2 separate regions of the Homo sapiens genome follow, and region 2 is linked to region 1. Evidence: promoter capture Hi-C in human tissues and cell types (Jung and others, 2019). All regions are on one chromosome and are shown on one strand. Each heading gives the region's core, a stretch centred on a gene start or on the middle of the fragment in contact. The rest is flanking DNA. Distances are from core to core; before and after follow the strand shown.

The links. The method cuts DNA at HindIII sites, captures the fragments that hold promoters and counts their contacts. A contact is called where the count stands out against the background at its distance.
Region 2: a contact is called between the fragment with the promoter of EARS2 here and the fragment with the promoter of UQCRC2 in region 1, in 1 of the 25 tissues and cell types used here (spleen).

What each region holds. Positions count from the first base shown.
Region 1 is chr16:21,951,827-21,955,165 of GRCh38, reverse strand. It overlaps UQCRC2 (ubiquinol-cytochrome c reductase core protein 2), which reads right to left and starts at 1,805. Exons shown (of 14, transcript NM_003366.4): 1 at 1,710-1,805. The coding sequence starts at 1,742. RefSeq lists enhancers at 1,463-1,512, 1,523-1,692, 1,207-1,924, 2,013-2,472. The HindIII fragment of the contact is 13,220 bases long and covers 1-3,339 here.
Region 2 is chr16:23,555,768-23,559,106 of GRCh38, reverse strand. It overlaps EARS2 (glutamyl-tRNA synthetase 2, mitochondrial), which reads left to right and starts at 1,757. Exons shown (of 9, transcript NM_001083614.2): 1 at 1,757-1,902. The coding sequence starts at 1,764. It overlaps UBFD1 (ubiquitin family domain containing 1), which reads right to left and starts at 1,380. Exons shown (of 7, transcript NM_019116.3): 1 at 1,340-1,380; 2 at 828-1,157. The coding sequence starts at 1,364. RefSeq lists silencers at 958-1,137, 1,238-1,327 and enhancers at 495-1,138, 1,398-1,597, 1,139-1,783, 1,788-2,067, 2,428-3,072. The HindIII fragment of the contact is 16,025 bases long and covers 1-3,339 here.

The sequences.
Region 1 (3,339 bases), core at 556-3,055:
CAAATATGAATAATCTATAATTCCGTTACCAAGTGAGATTTTAGGTGTTTTCCAACCAAATGTGCCCAAATAGTAACTCTTTGTTGGTAATTTTTTTTTTTTTTTTTTTTTGAGACGGAGTCTCGCTCTGTCGTCTAGGCTGGAGTGCAGCGGTGCGATCTCGGCTCACTGCAACCTCCGCCTCCTGGGTTCAAGAGATTCTCCTGCCTCAGCCTCCTGAGTAGCTGGGATTAGAGGCGCCCACCACCACCACGCCCGGCTATTTTTTTTTTTTTTGTATTTTTAGTAGAGACGGGGTTTCACCATGATGGCCAGACTGGTTTCGAACTCCTCATCTCAAGTGATCCGCCTGCCTCTGACTCCCAAAGTGCTAGGATTACAGGTGTGAGCCATCGCGCTCCGCCGGTAATGTGCTTCTTAATCGTCCCATTCAAATCAGCAAATTATCCTAGTAACTGTCATGCAATCTTCTAAATTATTTTGTTCTAATAACAAGATATATCTAAGTTTATTCTCCTATATAAAGTGCTAAAATTAGACACATAAATAATTGCTTTCAAGTTTACTGCAATTTGTTTACTTTGGGCCTCTCCAACTGTTTTCTCTGAGCTTTTTCTGTTGCAAAATAGAATGGAGAAGGAAATGTTGGGGTCTTTTGCCAATCTAACCGTGCTTCCCTCCAAGGGTAATCACTGGTGTGTCTAGGTATACCTGGAAGGTTAATGCAATTACAGCCTAAATCGATATAGCCCACAGCACATTTATGTAAACATAAAGCATAAGAACATTCCATGCCCAGGTCTGGTCTTCTGCATCTCCATCTAGGGGGGTTTCTCAACACAGGTACTACTACTGGCACTTGGGGCTAGATAATTCTTTGCTGTAAGGCGAAGTTTAGCAGCATCCCTGGCCTCTCCATGCCAATAGCACCCTCCTTACAAGTTGTTGCAACTAAATATGTCTCCAAACATCGCCACCGGTTCCCTGGGGGCATTCTGTCCCTCGCTATGATTTTTTAAGTGTTCCCCCTTACCCCTCTTAATAACCACTGTCCCACAGTGATATAACCCTGATGTGTGAGTTTTCCCCAAGTGACAGCTATGTTTAATTTAGGCTTGAAGGGGAAACTTAATTAAGGAGCTTTTGAGGACAAACAGAGACGTCTTGGAGGAACCGTCTAACATACGATCAAGAAAAGCAACGTTAGACTACTAAGACACCATAGTATTTAACAATGAAGTTCCAGGTACTGTAATAAGTGTTCTATCTGCATTAGCTCCTTTCTTATACTTTTATTCGCTGGGGAAACTGACGCTCCGTGATAAACCAAGGAGCAGAGGCTGCAGCGGATAAAGTGAAGGTGGGGGGCTAAGTGCGCCGTCCTCCCGCTCCCCCTGGGTTTCACGGTCTCTTTCTCCAGCACTTGAGTACCGGAGTGACCTTCAGAAGTCTCTCCAAGGACTCGCTTCAACTCCGCTCTCACGTCCTGCCCCTCTCTTCAGGTTTCCCGGTGTTAGGTCTCTTGTGCTCACAGCATGAGCTGGGCCTCCAAAGCCTGACCCAGTCTGCAGCCCACTTGGCCCGCAGGGTTCAGCTGAAGGGCAGACCGAATCCCAAGGCCCAGACCCCAGACCAGACACCTCCGCCTCGTATCACCTTGTCGACACACTGCTCCCCAGCCCTTTCCCAAACCCGCCACCTGAGCTCACCGAGAAAGAGCCGGCTCTGGTTAGTAGCTTCATGATTCAAGATTGTTCTGACACACGGTCACTGCCGGATTAAAGGAAAGCAAGATGGTGGCGGAGGCCGGGAGTTTCCCAGCGTTCCCCGCTAACACTTTCCCACGTCCCCTTCGTGAGGTACTCTCTATACTGCCGCGCTCTACTGCTCTCTTTATAAGGTTGGACCAGTCCAATTCCTCCAAGACTCAGAATAGGGAGACGCACAATTTCCCAAGTAAATATATGCAGAGAATAATGTACGTCACTGCTTTTTGCGTTCTTCTCCTAGCCTGAATATCCAGTATGCACCCCTTTTCTAAGTACGTCTGCAGCAGCCTGTCACAACTCCCCCCGCTATCTTGGGCTCTTCCGCTCAGCATTGTCCAATGGGACGCGCCTCTCTTGGGACTCCGCATGCGCCCTCCGGGATGACACCTGCACTGGAGGCCCTGGGTTTCCGCGTTCCTGGACGTTGGAGGCTTCAGGAGATTCCTGCCACTCCACCTTTCTGCAGAGGTATTGGGTATCGAAGCCCGGCGTAGTTGCCTCTCGCTGGGTGAAGTCCTTACTGGATCTTTAGCTCCGTGAAACAGGGGCCTCGTTCAACGTATTCGCCGCTGTGTCCCCCAGAGCAGGCCCGGGACACACCGGGAGGGTCAGCAACCTCGGGGAATCATCACAAGGCTTTTGGTCTCGTGGAATTTACGTCCTAGGCTGGGGCTACATAGAATATAAAAACTTAGCTATAGTTTTTGTGTTAGGAAAATAGAAATGTTTTGGATAGTAGGTGTGTTATGTGAGCCGAAACCGGCAGTTGGAGAAAGTCAGTCACGTGACGACTTGGGGCGGGGGCGTTCACTCCGGTCCTCAGCGAGTGTTAACCCAGAAAGTGCCTTGAGCTAGGCACTATGCCAACGCGAGAGGCGTGGTCCCTGCCCTTTAGGGACTTTAGAGTTTCGTACCTTGCTACGTTGCTTGGTTGGGAAACCGACAGTATCAGCATCAATATCATTTAGGAGTTGATTAGAAATGTATGAACTCCAGGTCCCATATTGGATCCGAATCGGTGTTTTTACAAGATCCTGGGATGACTTCGTATGCACAATAGTTTCAGAAAGGCTGGTGGTGTAGACGTTACAAGGCATAGGCAAATGTACTTTCTTTTTGCCTTGTGTCTGAATTGCTCCAGGCCTACAACGGACTTGGGCTCTCTAATTAAGATCTGGGCATTAAGAACCTGGCACCAACCCAATTTCTGTGCCTGCTGGGGACGCCCTCAACCCAATTCATACCACACAGTTTCCCCACATGTGGTAGATTTAACACTAGTGGTGCGTGAGATGATTTTAAGTTGGTACATAGATGAACACTTCCATTTTTTCCTTTTAAAAATTTGTATAAATTTAAGGGGCGCAAGTACAGTTATGTTATATGGATATATTGCAGTAATGGTGAAGTCTGGGCTTTTAGTGTACCCATCACCCGAATAATGTACATGGTACCCATTAAGTACTTTCTCATCGTTCACCTCTCTCCCACCCCTCCACCTTTCGGAGTCTCCATTGTCTGTCATTCCACACTCTATGTCCATGTGTACACCTTATTTAGCACTGTTCCA
Region 2 (3,339 bases), core at 508-3,007, 1.6 Mb before region 1:
AGAAGCCAATAGGGACAAAACTCCTGTTCTTAATGGAGATTACAAGGCTACATGTAGAAAGCTTTAAAAAAAAAAAAAAGTTCAAGGCCAGGAGTGATGGCTTATGCCTGTAATCCCAGCACTTCGGGAGGCCGAGGTGGGTGGATAAAATAAAAAAAACTAGCCCGGCGGGGTAGCGGGCACCTGTAATCCCAGCTACTCGGGAGGCTGAGGCAGGAGAATCGCTTGAACCTGGGAGGCGGAGGCTGCAGTGAGCCAAGATGGTGCCAGTACACTCCAGCCTGGGCAACAGAGCAAGACTCCGTCTCAAAAAAAAAAAAAAATAGGAAAAAGAAAAGAAATCTCAGATGGCAAAGAGCTATGAACAAGGTAAAATTAAGAAACAGAATCGACTGTGAAGAACCAGCATCAAAGTCAATAGCAGCGTTTCCTAAACTTCACTTAGAAGAATTACCTAAGATATTTGCTAAAAATAAATTCCTGGCTACATCCCAGACCCACTGAATCAGAATCTCCTGGGAAAGGGCCCAGAAGCTGTAAAACAAGCGCCTTAGGTGATTTTTTAATTAGAGATGTTAGAGCAACATCAATGAGAAACTGGGGCCTAAACGTCAGACTTCGGCTTTAATCCCAGCTCTGCAACTTACTAGCTCTATAAACTTGAGTCTCTTTCCCCAGCTGAGTAATGGGCATCCAAGTATCCTTCAGAAGACTGCTGTAAGGATGGGGGGACCTGATGCAAGGAAAGCCACCAGGTGCCTAGTAGGGTGCAAGGGCCATCAGGAGGCGGGGTGGGGAAGACTGGCTGTCAGCGCCACAGGAATTACCTGTAATCGAGTGGATCTTCTGTTTCAGCTCGGAGCCTGTGCTGTCCAGGGGGAACTTCACGTCATGCTTGGTCTTATTCCAGATGATCTTCAAGTCCACCAGCTCCCTGCCCGCGCCGCCGCCCGCGTCTTCGCCGTTGCTGACCGAGGCCTGGGCTGCGGGGTCCCCAGGGGGCTGGGCCGGGGCCGGCTGCAGGCTGCCTCGTGCGGCGCCGGAGTCCTCGGCCGCCGCCCCCGCCGCGGCTTCAGCCTCCAGGCAGTTGACGGGCCGCGCGGGAGCCTCAGTAGCCACAGTCTCGGCCTCCGTGTCCATGCCAGGTTCCTCCATGCCTGCAAGGGGGTTAGGGGGTGGGCGCTCGCCGCGGGCTGGGCTTGGGAACGGACGCTGTCCGGGCGCCGCCGGACCTCCGTTCCCGAGCCGCGGTTCTCCCTCCCGGGCCGGGCCGCATCCCCCAGAGGAGCGACCGCAACCTCAGCCCCGGCCCGGCGCCCGCCACCCCCGCCGCACTCACCATCCGGGGCCCCGGCCGCCGCCATGATGATTGTGTACAACACCCACCGCTCCCGCAGAGGCCGCTGGGAAGAGGCGAGCTGGCTGAGATTGGCCCCCGCAGCAGCCCCTAATCTCTCACAGCCCGGCCGGAAACAGGTGGAGGTTTCTATGGAGACCCGCCTCCTCCGCTCCCAGGTCCGGCCCCTGCCACGCTTTCGCTTTCCCAAGCTGAAGGGGGCGGGTCCGGGAAATAGCCCTTTCTCTGGCCTCTGCCCCCTGGTGGCGAGTGCGGCCGCAGCCGTCCAGGGGGGCGTGGGATTTCGCGCTAGGGGGCCTGTGACTTTAAGGGGCAAGGCTGCGCTGGCTGTGGCGGAGGCCGATTGGCTGGAAGCAGTCCCCGGAAGTGACGCAGGGAGAAGCCCACGTGTGCTATTCCATCCCACATGGCGGCGCTCCTGAGGAGACTGCTGCAGCGCGAGAGGCCTTCGGCGGCCTCTGGCCGCCCCGTAGGACGGCGCGAGGCCAACCTGGGCACTGATGCCGGGGTTGCGGTGCGAGTGCGGTTCGCTCCCAGCCCCACAGGTAACCCTGGCGGACGTGACGCTACAGGCCGAGGCCCCCTGTCCCGTCTCCGCCCCACGAATGTTCCCGAATGAATCCTTTCCGGTGGTGTCAGAGTGGGCGGGCGGAGGAGGGTTAAGGCAGCGCGAGCCCATTTTACAGAGGCGGAAACTGAGGTGCAGGAGCGGAAATAATTCAAATTGCCAGGAGTTTCTTGTGTTTTTTGTGCCATCCCATCTCTTTCGATCTTTTTTTCATGCATTCCATACATGTGCATTGATGACAACCTGTGTAACAGGTGTTGTAGACGCTGGGATACAGTGATCATTGAGAAAGGTAGGGGCCTTGCTCTGTGGAAGTCTGCATTCTAGTGGCTGCCGCAGACACTTATAAAAAATAAGTGTAATTTTAGAGTCACATGTGCCATGCGGGAAGTGAAACAGGATAGGAGACTGGGGATTAAGAAGGACGCTCCAGAAGGCTTTACTGAGCAGGTAACATTTGAGCTGAGATCCAAATGACAAGAAGGAGCACGCTATGTGAAGCCTATAGAAGGAACCTTCTGGAGGCCAGGCGCGGTGGCTCACGCTTGTAATCCCAGCACTTTGGGAGGCAGAGGTGGGTGCATCACTTGAGGTCAAGTGGATCACTTGAGAGCCGTCTGACCAACATGGTGAAGCCCTGTCTCTACTAAAAATACAAAATTATCTGGGCATGGTGGCGCATGCCTGTAATCCCAGCTACTTGGGAGGCTGAGGCAGGAGAATCGCTTGAACGCAGGAGGTGGAGATTGCGGTGAGCCAAGATCGCGCCATTGCACTCCAGCCTGGGCAACAAGAGCGAAACTGTGTCTCAAAAACAAAAAAGAAGGAACCTTCTGGGTAGAGGAAATCGCAGGTACCAAGGCACTGTGCTAGTGCTGTTGGGAGCTTAGCAAGCTAGAGGGTGACAGAGGCCCATTGTATAGCCTGTTGGAGATCTCGTCAGGGCCTTTTGGTTCCCACCAGTAAGGCTACCTTCTACGTTCTCTACACGGAGTATGCCTCTCATCCCAAATCCCAGGATGAACATACAAAGATCTTTGTAGTAAAATCCCAGCTATACATGACAGGATCTTTCTGGCAGGCAGTATAGCCTAGAGCAGTGCCTTTCAAACCATCTGTTGTGGAAGTGCTGGTTTTAAATTTCCAATCAATTGTGTATCAATATTTGCACAAAATTAATATAATGACCAGAAAAATAAAATTTTGAAAACATCCAAAATACAAACCAATCTCATTTTATTTGGGTTAGCAGAGGTAAAATCATTCTGCCAGATTGCTATGTAAGTTTCGCCTGGCCAATATGGCAAAACCTTGTCTCTACTAAAATACAAAAATTAGCCGGGCATGTGGCCCAGGCCTGTAATCCCAGCTACTCAGGAGGCTGAAAATCGTTTGAACCCAGGAGAAAGAGGTT